3 separate regions of the Homo sapiens genome follow, and regions 2 and 3 are each linked to region 1. Evidence: promoter capture Hi-C in 16 types of primary human blood cells and fetal thymus (Javierre and others, 2016). All regions are on one chromosome and are shown on one strand. The core of a region is centred on a gene start or on the middle of the fragment in contact, and the rest is flanking DNA. Distances in the headings are between cores, read along the strand shown.

What was found. Contacts are between HindIII fragments. The CHiCAGO score rates a contact against its expected background, and 5 or more counts as called.
Region 2: a contact is called between a fragment that was not itself captured here and the fragment with the promoter of FNDC9 in region 1, in 3 of 17 cell types (activated CD4 T cells, non-activated CD4 T cells and total CD8 T cells). The highest score is 6.8, in activated CD4 T cells.
Region 3: a fragment that was not itself captured here is called in contact with the fragment with the promoter of FNDC9 in region 1 in 1 of 17 cell types (activated CD4 T cells); the score reaches 5.3 in activated CD4 T cells.

The regions. Positions count from the first base shown.
Region 1 is chr5:157,343,329-157,347,946 of GRCh38, reverse strand. It overlaps FNDC9 (fibronectin type III domain containing 9), which reads left to right and starts at 2,270. Exons shown (of 2, transcript NM_001001343.4): 1 at 2,270-2,406; 2 at 4,404-4,618. The coding sequence starts at 4,411. All of the region lies in intron 23 of CYFIP2 (cytoplasmic FMR1 interacting protein 2), which reads right to left. The HindIII fragment of the contact is 2,139 bases long and covers 1,690-3,828 here.
Region 2 is chr5:157,132,123-157,136,612 of GRCh38, reverse strand. No RefSeq gene overlaps it. Among named protein-coding and RNA genes, the nearest start is that of MED7, 8.5 kb to the left of the region's middle. The HindIII fragment of the contact is 3,920 bases long and covers 277-4,196 here.
Region 3 is chr5:157,104,048-157,108,867 of GRCh38, reverse strand. It overlaps HAVCR2 (hepatitis A virus cellular receptor 2), which reads left to right. Exons shown (of 7, transcript NM_032782.5): 2 at 1,906-2,241; 3 at 4,119-4,202. Among named protein-coding and RNA genes, the nearest start is that of HAVCR2, 2.6 kb to the left of the region's middle. RefSeq lists an enhancer at 1-37. The HindIII fragment of the contact is 4,025 bases long and covers 48-4,072 here.

The sequences.
Region 1 (4,618 bases), core at 1,021-3,520:
CTGGTGAGCGGCGACAGCTCAGAGGAGCGGGATGAACCCTGGCCTCCGCCTCCGAGTCTGGGGCCCCACCCCATTTCACTGGCAGCTCTGCCACTCATCAGTCAAGCGGTCTGAGGAATGCCATGTCTTCTCCCAGGACTGTGAAACAAGAGGGCTTGGAGGCCTCACATTCTCTGAGTATCTTAATTCCACAGTGGAAAATTTCTCTTGGTTAAAAATGTCATCCAAGAATATTAAAAATAAATTCCAATTTTCTGTGGAAAAAGGCTTGAGTTCTACCTTGTTCCTCCTCAGACCCCTTAACTCTGGTATTTTTACTCCCCGCAAAATAACCTTTTCAAAGGGCATCTGCAAACAGCTGCGTGGCCTTTCTGTGGGGAGGATGCTTTTATGCTCCGTGGGGACTCACCATTAGCACTTGACCTGGCTGTGCTCGCATGGGAAGAGACATGCTGCATGCATTGCTGCAGATTTAAGACAGGCGCCTGGGAAGACTGAATGCCATGGGCAAGCTGCAGAGCAACTTTCTGATCAAGGAACACTGGCTTGTTCCCGAGTTCCCAAGACTCCAAGCCTCCCGGAGACCTTTGGCCAAGGGTAGGGTCACAACTCACCAAGGCGGCTCTTTTTTTTTTTTTTTTCCAAGGGAAAAAGTCTTTCTATAATACCCAGGCTGGTCTGGAACTCTTAAGCTCAAGTGATCCTCCCACCTCAGCCTCCCAAGTGGCTGGGACTACAGGTGCACACCACTGCAGCTGTGCCTGGCTTTCTTCCTAACCTTTTATCATTAATGTGAATCAGAAAGAGACCTTCATGGGTTAACTTGGATACTTTGGCCAAGAACCAAGAAGAGAAAAGCTGACTTTTAAAAACATATAATGTGTATAAATTTATTCAGGTCTACATCTATCTGAGCTACTTTCCACCCTCTATTCCAGACACACCCTGTGATCTCAATAGAATGGTGGCAATGGGTTCTTACAAGGTTGAAAGGAACAGGAAGGGATGGAACCTCAAAGCCAGACGGCCCTTTATGAGAAAAGGGGAGGCAAGCAGTCTGGATTCTTGAAAGGAAAGGAACGCTGGGGATGATTCAATCCAGGAGTAGCAAACAGTTTCCATTTCTGGCGTCAACTCCAACTGATTGATTGGGAAGCAGTTTCTTGGGACGCTTGTGTTCAGAGGAACTCTGGGGCTGTTTCTGCACCCAGCTGGAAGCAGTGCTGCATTAGATTCCTAGGGTTGCTATCACAAATTACCATAAATGTGGCAGCTTAACATGACAGAAATTTATTCTCTCACAGTTCTGGAGACCAGAAGCCTGAAATCAAGGCTCTCGCAGAACCATGCCCTCTCCAAGGCTCTAGGGGAGAATGTTTCCTTGCCTTCCCAGCTGCTGATGGCTCCCGGTGTTCCTTGGCTGATGGCAGCATCCTTCCACTCTCTGCCTCTGTTTTCCCTTGGCTTCTTCCCCTTGAGTCTCTCTGTCTTTTCTCTTACAAAGACATTAGTCATTGGATTTAGGGCTCACCCTTAAATCCAGGAAGATTTCATCTTGAGATCCTTAACTAGTTATATCTACGAAGGCTCTATTTCTAAATCAGGTCACATCCTAAGGTTCTGGATGGATATGTATTTTGGGGGGGCATTATTCAACCCAGTGAGAGTGCCATGATGGTTTAGCAAGCTTGACAGGGGTTCAGGGCTGTGCAGGGATAGGGCTCAGGTCTTCTGCCTTCTGATCTGCCATCCTGATGTAGCCCAAGCCCACAGCTTTACAGATGATGGTGGAACTGAGACTCAGACAATAAAAATAAAAGGGTCTTGACCAGTACCATATAACTATGTAATGGCACATGAGTCAAGAATAAAGAAAGATGAAGATAAAGAGGTGGGGTAGGCAGTTGGGATGGGGAAGTGTAGGGGTGGGAGGGGATGAAGATGAATATTACTGCTTTGGTTGTGGAATAACTGAGAAAAGCATCTTTGCATTTAAAACCATTGGCCAAAGAGGATCTAGATGGGACAAGAAAATAATAATCAGCCAACTGGGGAGAAAATGTAGGAGTGTTAGAAGAATTAGTACTGCACTGGGGACCAGTTTTCAGGGGATCATCTGCCCTTTTTCAGCCAAAGGAATGAGAGCTCCTCTCACTGGGCAAAAGCCTTTCCAGGCTGGTCCCTGAAAGCATCGTGCGTACAGATGCCTGCTGGTTGCCATGGTGAATGATGCTGATCTGAAGAAATGAATAATGTGAGCATTAGGGGCGGCAGTGGGATTACTCAGTGTTGAGAGAAACAACACGGAAAGCCCAGAGCAGAGGAGGGAGAAGGCCCCATTCTCTCAGCTTTAATCTACTGCACCTCGGAGGGCAGAGCTCTAACCAGACACGCTGCAAGCATCAGGTAAGACATATAGATGGCTCTTCTTGGAAATGGAAATGGCTTCTTTTCACACTCTGCTTGGAGAAGGGCCGGGCAAATGAATAGTTAAAAATAGGGGAGAATTTAGAAACGGAAACAGAGGAAGAAAAATCAATAAGGGAGACGGACCTGGTCCTAAAAGGTGAGGATGCTATTTGCGTCTTGACAGAAAGCTCTTAAAAATGTCTGCTGAGGTAATTCCATCTGTACAGACAGCTAGTGGCAGATAGGAAGCCAAGAGAACATTTGTGCGTGACAAGAAACAGGATTCCTGATTACTCCTGATGGAAAGGTTTTACACAGGTGGCTGCCTATAATGAATTAAGCTCTTTTCATCGTGGTCGAAAGTGTATTTATAGTGATGTGTGGTGTGGGGAGGATGAGTGTGTAGAGGACACCAAGCTAGGAAACATAAACATTCGGTCTCCTTCATGATGACCTTCCCTGGAAGGGTCTGAGCACATCCGTCTCATCCCTTTCGTTCCCTATTTACTGGGAAGAAATATTCAGCCACATAGAAAGACACTATTCACCTTCCTGAGTATCTTAGTTCACTGTTACCCTTACAGAAGAAAAACAAGGATTAAGAAACTACTCAATGCTGTGCACCTTTCTGCAGCTCCACTCCTGGAGGAAAATGGGCACAAACACAAGAGGATGGGGGAAAGCAGAGGTGAGAGAAAGGCAGGTCATAATAGCCATTGGTTTGGCTTAATATCCAATGCAGGCGAAAATCCAGTTGACAGCTGTTTACTATGTCACTGCAACCCAAAATGAAACCTACGGGGTTTCATGTGAGGGAGGAGAGGCGGAAGACAAAGCAGGGTGAGACTGTTATGTGAATATGCGTAGGCTGACTATGACTGTCTCTGTATTTCTGATCAGGGGCAATCAGTAGAGGGAACTGCATGAGAGAAACTAAAATACTTGAAGATGGCTCTCTCTTATCAAAGCGGGGCCTGGCAATCTAAAGAGGGCTCATTTGATTTGTCTGGAAAAACAGCAACTGGGTCTCAGTCCTGGCACCTCATTTTGCGATAACGTCTGTAACTAAACCCGGCAGCCTTGCATTAGGAAATGTAGTGGTTAGGCGGCACTAAGTCCTTTTTCTACGTATTAGCGGTGTGACATCAGGTTGCTCATCCGTAAAATGGGAATCTAGCTCAGAGGATGTGATGAAGAATAAAGGAAATTAATTACTGCCTGTGAATCATCTAGCATGACAAGTGACATAGCAACCACTTACTGTGAGTGGTTATTACCATGATTAACATTCATAATAACAGCAGAATTAAATAGTGGTAGTTATGCTGATATTAGGGGCTGATTATCTTCACCCATAAAATAAATTTCCTGGTACCGCTGGCTTTGAAAAAACAAACAAACAAAACAAGAGCAGAAGCTTTGGGGTGAGATCAGCTGCCAAAGAGTGACGAAGCGAATTTCCACTCACCATGGGCAACAGAACCAGGAGGCTAAAAAAAGCAGTGGGCAGAATGTTCTAGATCACTGAGCTCACAGTACTTGGAGCAGAAACAGGAGGTCAAGAAGGAAAATTGAGGTGAATCAATTGCCTGAGGGGAGGTCACAGACCTGAGAATAAAGGTGGAGCCTCTGAGGTTCTACTGATTTCTCCTTACCTTTTCTTCTTTTTTCTTAAGGGGATGAGAACAATCCCCTTAAGAAAATCCCCTTTGTTATCTGAAGGATCTCAGCTAGGGTGGGATGTGGCTGGGATTGCATGGGTGCATCTGTTCTTAGGCCTGAACTTTGGCATGGGACAGCCCCAGTTTTAACTTTTGTCCTGCCACTTTTTCGCTATGCCTAAATAACAGAACCTCTCGGCCTCCATTTCTTTGTCTGTAAGATGAGGGCAACATGAGTGCCCGTCTCAAATGTGCAATAAATGGTGGCTATGATTATGATAAATACATACTTAAATCAGGGGATGTCACTCTTCACTTTGATTCTGGTTCCAGAATCGGGATGAACATCGAGGTGGGGAACATTTCTTATACAGGAGCCATCATCTCCTGGTCGTCCTCGGAGCCCTGCCTGGAGGACTATTACCATATTATGTACAGGCCCAACTGGAACAGCATCTTCTCTGGCTATCTTCGCTACAGCTTCCACCACGAGGAGAAGGTGCCTCGAACGATCAGCTCCGTGGTGCTGGAACATCTTGCCCCTTCCA
Region 2 (4,490 bases), core at 987-3,486, 210 kb after region 1:
ACTCCAGCCTGGGTGACAGCAAAACTCTGTCTAAAATATATATATATATGTGTATGTATGTATATATGTATGACTATAGGTCAGTTCTCTATGAAATGTGCATGCTGTGCTTTCACAGATCCAGGGACTGTAAGTTATCCCTAGGTAGACACTTCTTTATCAGATAGGCAGTTGGTTGGCTAGTCTCAACTTTTGTTTTTTTCTGGTACGTAATGTGTTTGGTATAGACCTTTGGGCCTCAGAGACTCCAGAGGACATAGTTCAGGCTCTCAAGCTTAAATTGAAGTAGGGAGCATCACCTTGTGAGGGAGAAAGGTGGAAATTGCTTAGCACTTGAACAACTCTCCAAAGAAAATTCTCTTTCTTTGACTCTGAGAACCTTGAGGAAGGTGTTGGGTTGAGGTGCAAAACCAGTTTTTGGCCACTTTGAAAATCTTTGCATGTAAAAAACAGAATCACATAAGAGCCACAACACTACTTATATATGAACGTGTGTGTGTTGGGGGGAGGGGCGTTGAGGGATTAAAATGCCACTGGGGGGCCAGGCACAGTGGCTTATGCCTGTAATCCCAGCACTTTGGGAGGCTGAGGTAGGAGGATGGTTTTAGGTCAGGAGTTTGAGACTAGCCTAGGCAACATAGTGAGACCGTGTCTCTACAACAAATTAGAAAAAAAAATGCCATTGGGGAGGATCTGATCTTGCAGGTCTGTGACTAGGACCTGACATAAATTCCTAAAGTGTTCTGATATGAACTCTTGCTATTAGAGTGGAATGAAAAAAAAGCTCTAGTGGCCTTATATAAGGTCTTTTTAATCTTGTGTTAAAATATATCTCTGCACACCTACTTATAATGAATATTCTTGAAAGATTGATTCATTGAAGTGAAATATCTGGAAGGATCACCTTTTTAAGCAGCTTTTGAAATGACTAATGCCCAGGTCCCACACTGCGGAGATTCTGATTTCATTTTTTGGACTGGGGTACTAGCATTGGTTTTAAGAAATCAGAAGATGATTCTCTTGTGCAGTGGTTACAGAATGTTGCATTAATCAGTGCTCTGTTACTGCTGACAAAAACCCTACTTGAACTAATTTAAGCAAAAAGATGAATTTATATAAAGGATATGGGGTATGGGCTGGGTACGGTGGCTCACACTTATAATCCTAGTGCTTTGGGAGGTTGATGTGAGAGGATCACTTGAGCTCAGGAATTTGAGACCAATGGGGGCAACATAGTGAGACCTTCTCTCTCTTACAATTTAATTAAAAAAAGAAAGGATATGGGATATGTTGATTGAAGGATAAGTTGAATATATAAACCATGAGAAGGTCAGAAAGTGGATGAAGTTTTAAGTTAGTAGCCCTGGAGACCATCTTTCCTGTTAGCTTCATTCTCTTTACAGATGAACTTCTTTAATGATGTAGGTGGAGAACATGGCAGCTGACAGTTCCTAAGGGTTAAGTATTTCTATGTTTACCACTGTCTGGGAGTTCCCTCTCAAATGCAAACTTAAAAAAAATGAGGGGAGGTTAATTAACGAGCTAGACATGAGGAATTAGGGGTTGTATACTTGATTGCAACTGGGCAAATCAACTGGGACTTGGATCCCATAAGAATTTCACAGTCCCCGCTATGTCTATTTATGGAAGAGTCAGTCTGTCTCTCAGAGGAAGGAAGCGGTGCTGAGCTAACGATAACGAGAGATCTACTACAAATCAGGCACATGTGAACTTAATATAAATAACAAACATAAACGGATTGTACAAATTTGTATTCCCTTTATGAGAGTAGTTTTTCCCCAGCTATTCATTTATTCATGATATTCATTTGATGAATACTTACTGTGGTCTGCACTCTGCCTGATACTAGTTTAACTGTTGGATGTGTGGGAAGGGCGAAGGAAAATGTAAGAAAGATAATAAGACGAGTTAATTTTTGAAGGTGATAAGTTTGTGTCTTAACCACTCAGCCATTACAGCACCTTCAGAAGAATCTTGCTTCCAGTTATGTTCCTATTGCCTGTTCAAAGCACCTTGTCCACATTATCTTCCCTTTTCAAGGAATGTGTACATTTTTTTTTGTCTTTTAAAACTTTTTTTTTTTTTTTGAGATGGAGTCTCACTCTGTCACCAGGCTGGAGTGCAGTGGCGCAATCTTGGCTCACTGCAACCTGCAACTCCCTGGTTCAAGTGATTCTCCTGCCTCAGCCTCCCGAGTAGCTGGGACTACAGGCGTGCACCACCATGCCCAGCTAAGTTTTGTATTTTTAGTAGAGAAGAGGTTTCACCATGTTGACCAGGATGGCCTCGATCTCCTGACCTCGTGATCCACCTGCCTTGGCCTCCCAAAGTGCTGGGATTACAGGCGTGAGCCACCATGCCCGGCCTAAAACTTTTTTTTTCTTTTTAAGTAGAGATGAGGTCTCACTATGTTGCCCAGGTTGGTTTCAAACTCCTGAGCTCAAGTAATCCTCCAGCCTCCCGAAGTGCTGGGATTACAGGTGTGAGCCACCATGCCTAACCTCACATTTGTTAAGGAATTTAGAAGGCAACTTTGCTAGGCACGGTGACTCACACTTGTGATCCCATCACTGAGAAACTGAGGCAGGAGTATCACTTGAGTCCACGAGTTCGAGACCAGCCTGGGCAACATAGGGAGACCCCATCTCTACAAAAATATTTAAAAATTCGCTGGATGTGATGGCACATGACGGGTTCCAGCCATTCCAGAGGCTGAAGTAGAAGGGACACTGGAGTCCAGGAGGTCAAGGCTGCAGTGAGCCACAGTCATGCCACTGCACTCCAGCTTGAGTGACAGAGTGAGACCATGTCTCAAAAACATAAAGAAAGGCAGCTTCAACTCATGCACTGAGCCCTGAGGTTACTGGGAACGGCAGGTGCAAATATCTCATGAGGAGATAGAAAGTTGGCATAATTTGGATGAGAAAGGCTACTATGGCTGCAATATGGTGAGGGAGGAGGTTGGAGCTTCAGAAGCAGGTGGAGGACAGATGTGCATGATTTAGAGAACCAAGGGAAGGAATTGGGTTTTTATCTGAAATCTGATGAGAAATTATGTTTGCAATTGATTTCTCATCAGATTTTACTAAAATACAGAGAATCAGTAGGAAGGGTACTAGCTGTACTCTGATAGATTTCTAAGTACTGCAAATGGTGCTAAGTGCTTTGTAGCTGTTCTCTTATTTAATCCTTAGAACAATCCTGTGAAGAACCTTCTAAATCTGATGGTATTTATGGCTGTAAGTTGCTGGCAATGTTTTAATCTCTTTGTATAAATAAAGTCATTTTAGCCTTACAACTACTGAATGAAATCAGTATTCTTTTTACACTCATATTTCAGATGTGGAAGTGGAGGCTCAGAGAAGTTATGTAATTTACCCAAGGTTAACTGACTAGTGGGTGGCAAAGCCAGGATGGAAACTAGGCATTCTAGTTTTCCAAGCCTGAACACTCAACCTTCATACTTCATTGCCTCTCCATTCCCTCATGTTGTTACTAAGTCACGTAGGTAAGTAAGTAGCGAAACCAAGAGTGGAGCCAATATTTTGACCCTAAAATCCATGCTTGCAAATACTACTTGATACTGGGCTGAACAGATTTATAGATGGAAACTATGAGTTCCCTTTGAACATATTAAGGTGCTTATGTCTTAGCTTAGACTTCTATGAGTATCTTAAGGAGATTCTGTGCTTATAATTCTAATCTTCCTAAAAACTCTTAGTAGGTATTATCCCCATTTTATGAGTAATGAAAATTGAGGATTAGAGTTTAGGTTTGCTCAGGTTGGAATCTAGGTCAGGAATTGGCAAACTCTTTTGTAAAGATTCAATTAGTAAATATTTTAGGCATTGAGGACTGTACAGTTTCCATTGCAGCTACTCAACTGCTGTGGGTCGAAAGCAGCCATAGACAATGCATAAACAAGAGAGCTCGGTTCCAATACAGCTTTCTATATGGACATTGAATTTTGAATTTCAATAATTTTCATATGTGAATTATTCTGATTTTTTCCAACTATTTAGCATGTACAATTATTCTTAGATGTGAGAGTACAAAATCAGACAGCAGGCTGGATTTGGCTGGTGGGCTATGATGTAGGTAATTGGATTCTAAACTTTGGAGTGTTTTCACAAAGCTACTAATAAAAAATCACAGAAATATAAATTACAGAAGCTTCTTCATAGGATTAATCCAAGGATTAAATAGGAGAATGGCTACAAAGCACTTAAGTTTTATTTTATTTTTAATTGACAAATTATTTATTTGTGAGGTACAATGTAATGTTTTAATATATGCATACCGTACTGAGCCTTTTTTCTTTTGCATGCCACTGGCACTTAGAATTAAATTTGTGAGCGGGTTTCAAGTTGCGTTGTGATGAGGCTACCAGTAAGTGGCACTCTTACCTCAGATTTAAGAGCTGTAGCTGGTTGCAGAGTAGACTAAAATGAAGAAACTCAGAGGTACTG
Region 3 (4,820 bases), core at 811-3,310, 240 kb after region 1:
GAGATACAAGGATGGCCATTGTAATGTTGTTTGTAATAGCAAAAGCTTGGAAGCAACCTAAATGTCCGTCGATGAGGGAGTGGGTAAATAAATGTGATATAATCATGATACAAACAGTGAGTCTGACAAAACATACTGGTATAGAATGTCTCAAAATTATAATGTTATTAAAGAAAAAAAGTTGCAGAATAATGCATATATTAGGCTTCTATTTGTGTGTGTGCATTGTCGGGGAGCAGGAATATGTGGACATTTCTTAATGTATAAGCTCTAGGAAAAGGAACCAGGGAATGGTAAAGAGTTGGGAGAGTAAGGCATATTTTTCTTTTCTTTTCTTTCCTTTTTTTCTTTTTCTTTTCTTTCTTTTTCTTTTTTTCAATTGAGATGGAGTCTCACTCTATTGCCCAGGCTGGAGTGCAGTGGTGGCACCATTTTGGCTCACTGCAATCTCCGCCTCCCAGGTTCAAGTGATTCTCCTGCCTTAGGCACCGGAGTAGCTGGGATCACAGGCGTGCACCACCACACCCAGCTAATGTTTTTAATTTTTAGTAGAGACAGGGTTTTACCATGTTGGTCAGGCTGGTCTCAAACTCATGGCCTCAAGTAATCTGCCCATCTCAGCCTCCCAAAGTGCTGGGATTACAGGCGTGACCCACCGTGTGCCCGGCCACTTTTTCATACACCTTTGATAGTGTTTGAATGTTTTTACTGTAGTTGAGTCATATGAAAACAAAGGGGACATAAAAAATCAAAAGAAAATATATAATGAATGTTTTATCATATATAAAATATATATAGTTTTTTTTTAATGGAATTAACTTTGTCATTTGAGGAAAATGAGGAGACAAGTCTCAATCATTTTAGGAGATTTGTTTGCCAAAGTTAAGGAGGCACCTGAGAGACAGGTCTATGACTTTCTCAGAAGATGATTTTGAGGGCTCCAGATTTAAAGGGGACAAGGTGGGATATTGAGAAGCACTCAGTTTTCACATAAAAAAGGGGGGGGGGCAGAGGAAAAATATGGGGAATCTGCATTTTACATTAGATAACACAGACAAAATGGGGTAGGGAAACAATCAGATAACGCATTTGTGTCTGGCCAGGGTGACCGCACCGGTAAAGATGAGCTATCAATCTGCATTGCACAGCTGACCAGGAATTTCCTTGTGGGCAAAATATGGGGGAGGTATGCAGCCTTTCATCCTGTAGCCATCTTATTCAGGAATCAAAAAGAGGAGGCAGGTTTCTGTGACCCAGTTCCCAGCTTGACTTTTCCCTTTGACTGAATGAGTTTGGGGTCCCAAAATTTAATTTCTTTTCACAACTTTAAACCTTAAAACAACTCCATGAGTAGTTTCAAATACACAAGATCCTTATTTAACCAAGGGTTTGTATTTACTGTGCACTTGCTGCTTAAAAAGAGAAGTATGTTAGGAGAGCCTCCCTTTGTTGATGAACAAGCAAGTAGCCCAGATGGGCGGGCCGTTTCCTGGCTGACCATGACTAATTTTCTGATTGTCTGTTTCCATCAGCCCTGTTCTCCCGTGTTCACAGAATTGGGCCACAATTCTCTCCTAGGGCAGTGTTTCTGAAAGTGAGGTTCTGAGACCAGCCACTTCAGCAACACTTGAGAACTTGTTAGAAATAAAAGTTCTCAGGCTCTACCACAGGCCAACTGAGTCAGGAACTCTAGCAGTTGAGCCCAGCAATCTGTGTTTTCGCAAGGCTTCCCAGTGATTCTGATGGCCTTCACATCTGAGAAGCATTGTCACAGCGAATCATCCTCCAAACAGGACTGCAGCAGTAGCTTCCTCTTTATTCTGTAAGACATGGCTTGCAGTTTTCCTGAAATGGAGTAACCTCACTCACCGCTTGAGTCTTGGCTCTCCTTCTCTCTCTATGCAGGGTCCTCAGAAGTGGAATACAGAGCGGAGGTCGGTCAGAATGCCTATCTGCCCTGCTTCTACACCCCAGCCGCCCCAGGGAACCTCGTGCCCGTCTGCTGGGGCAAAGGAGCCTGTCCTGTGTTTGAATGTGGCAACGTGGTGCTCAGGACTGATGAAAGGGATGTGAATTATTGGACATCCAGATACTGGCTAAATGGGGATTTCCGCAAAGGAGATGTGTCCCTGACCATAGAGAATGTGACTCTAGCAGACAGTGGGATCTACTGCTGCCGGATCCAAATCCCAGGCATAATGAATGATGAAAAATTTAACCTGAAGTTGGTCATCAAACCAGGTGAGTGGACATTTGCATGCCATCTTTATGAATAAGATTTATCTGTGGATCATATTAAAGGTACTGATTGTTCTCATCTCTGACTTCCCTAATTATAGCCCTGGAGGAGGGCCACTAAGACCTAAAGTTTAACAGGCCCCATTGGTGATGCTCAGTGATATTTAACACCTTCTCTCTGTTTTAAAACTCATGGGTGTGCCTGGGCGTGGTGGCTCACACCTCTAATCCCAGCACTTTGGGAGGCTGAGGCCGGTGGATCATGAGGTCAGGAATTCGAGACCAGCCTGGCCAACATAGTAAAACCTTGTCTCCACTAAAAATACAAAAAATTAGCCAGGCATGGTTACGGGAGCCTGTAATTCTAGCTACTTGGGGGGCTGAAGCAGGAGAATCACTTGAACCTGGGAGTCGGAGGTTGTGGTAAGCCAAGATCTCGCCATTGTACTCCAGCCTGGCTGACAAGGGTGAAACTCTGTCTCAAAAAAAAAAAAAGAAAAGAAAAGAAAAGCCAAAACTCATGGGTGGAATGTATAGATGGGATGAAAGGCCTAGATCAGTGGTTAGAGACCCTGACTCTCATTAGAATCACATAGAGAGTTTTTAAACAACTATAGATGCCAGGTACAGTGGCTCATGCCTATAATCCCAATACTTTGAGAGGCTGAAGCAGGAGGATCACTTGAGGTCAGGAGTTTGAGACCAGCCTGGCTGATATACTGTGGCTACCCCTATCTCTTAAAAAGCAGAAGAAAAAACCCCACTACCAAAAACCAGAGAAATCAGCATCTCTGGAGGTAGATGCTAAGCATTAGCTTTTTACAGAGTCTACCTCAGGTGATTTTACCCCAGGTGCAGCCAGCATGGTGAACTGCTGGGTTATGCATGTATGCTGGGAGGTGAACAGACTTAAGATTTCTATAACATGTACTTTGTGCCCAGATAGAGCTGAGTTTACATCTAACTCTGCCTCTTACTAGCTATATAATCCTGAGCAAGTTATTGAAACGCTGTGAGCTCCTCTTCTATAAAATATGACAATAATACCGATCATGTGGGCCATTAGAAGGATTTTATGTGATAATATTTTATTAAAAGCCTTTATAGGTTGGGCATCCCAAATCTGAAAATCTAAAACCTAAAATGCACCAAAATCTGAAATGCTCTAAAATCCAAAACTTTTTGGACACTGACATGACATTCAAAGGAAAAGCTCATTGGAACATAAGTATAGGCAGATACTAAAAAATAAAAAAATAAAAACATGGCTGGGCGTGGTGGCTCATGCCTATAATCCCAGCACTTTGGGAGGCTGAGGTGGGTGGATCACCTGAGGTCGGGAGTTCGAGACCAGTCTGACCAACATGGAGAAACCCTGTCTCTACTAAAAATACAAAATTAGCCAGGTGTGGTTGCACATGCCTGTAGTCCCAGCTACTCAGGAGTCTGAGGCAGGAGAATTGCTTGAACCCAGGAGGCGGAGGTTGCAGTGAGCCGAGATTATGCCATTGCACTCCAGCCTGGGCAACAAGAGCAAAACTCCGTTTCAAAAAAAAAAAAAAAATTCAAAATCTAAAACATTTCTGATCTCAAGCATTTCAGATAAGGAGTCTTCAACCTGTAATTATGGCCATTTGTGTGGCTGTTAGTTCCGCTATTAATAATCAGAATGTAACAATGATGACTGCATCTTACCTTTGTCAAACATTTGAAGTGTGTGATACACTCTCAACGTAGGTATCCAGGCAGGTTTGGAAGCTGAGGGTGTATTTCTCTTTCTTAATTGTCTTTCGCATTTTTTTCTTGCTGCCCCTTTGATTCCCTGAAATAAGCTTTCTGCTCTCAGATAATTTTCATCCTTATGTTGTTTCTGACATTAGCCAAGGTCACCCCTGCACCGACTCGGCAGAGAGACTTCACTGCAGCCTTTCCAAGGATGCTTACCACCAGGGGACATGGCCCAGGTAACTATGCATGGGGCAGAGGAGGGAATCTTTAGCTGGCTCTGAATTCAGAGGATTTTGAATGTGGGAAAAAAAGATGAGAAAACAGTGTGAGAGTGGAGGCATGGATATCTCCGTGCACCTGAAATAGTGTTTGAAAAGAGGGAAGTGGTGGAGACACACCTGTGCTGGGAAAAAGATGGTCTGGCTTAGGATTATTTTACTTAAATTTTAACTGGAAAAAAGTTAATAAACTTTATAGTCTTTAATTTTACTTAAATATTAACTAAATTGAATGAAATGCTCATTACTTTGTCCACATTTTCTGACTGACCCTGGACTGGTGATGTTTGGTCATGAACTGGTGTCAGTCTGTGTTTGGGAACTGACACATTGGATTAGGTGATTTCTAGGATGCCTTCTAGCTAGAATAAAGCCCATCACCTTCCCTGGATTCCAGCCACAGAAAGAATAGTTAAATTCTTCATGTAATTCAGCAAGGACGTACTCAGGGTGCTCCAGAAGAGAACACTGGGCATAAAGCAGAAGTCAAGTCACATTGATCATGAAGGTTAATTTTAAGGTATTTCTTGTCAGTGTCCTGGTCTCTTCTAAACTCTCTGGAGCTCCATTTTTTTT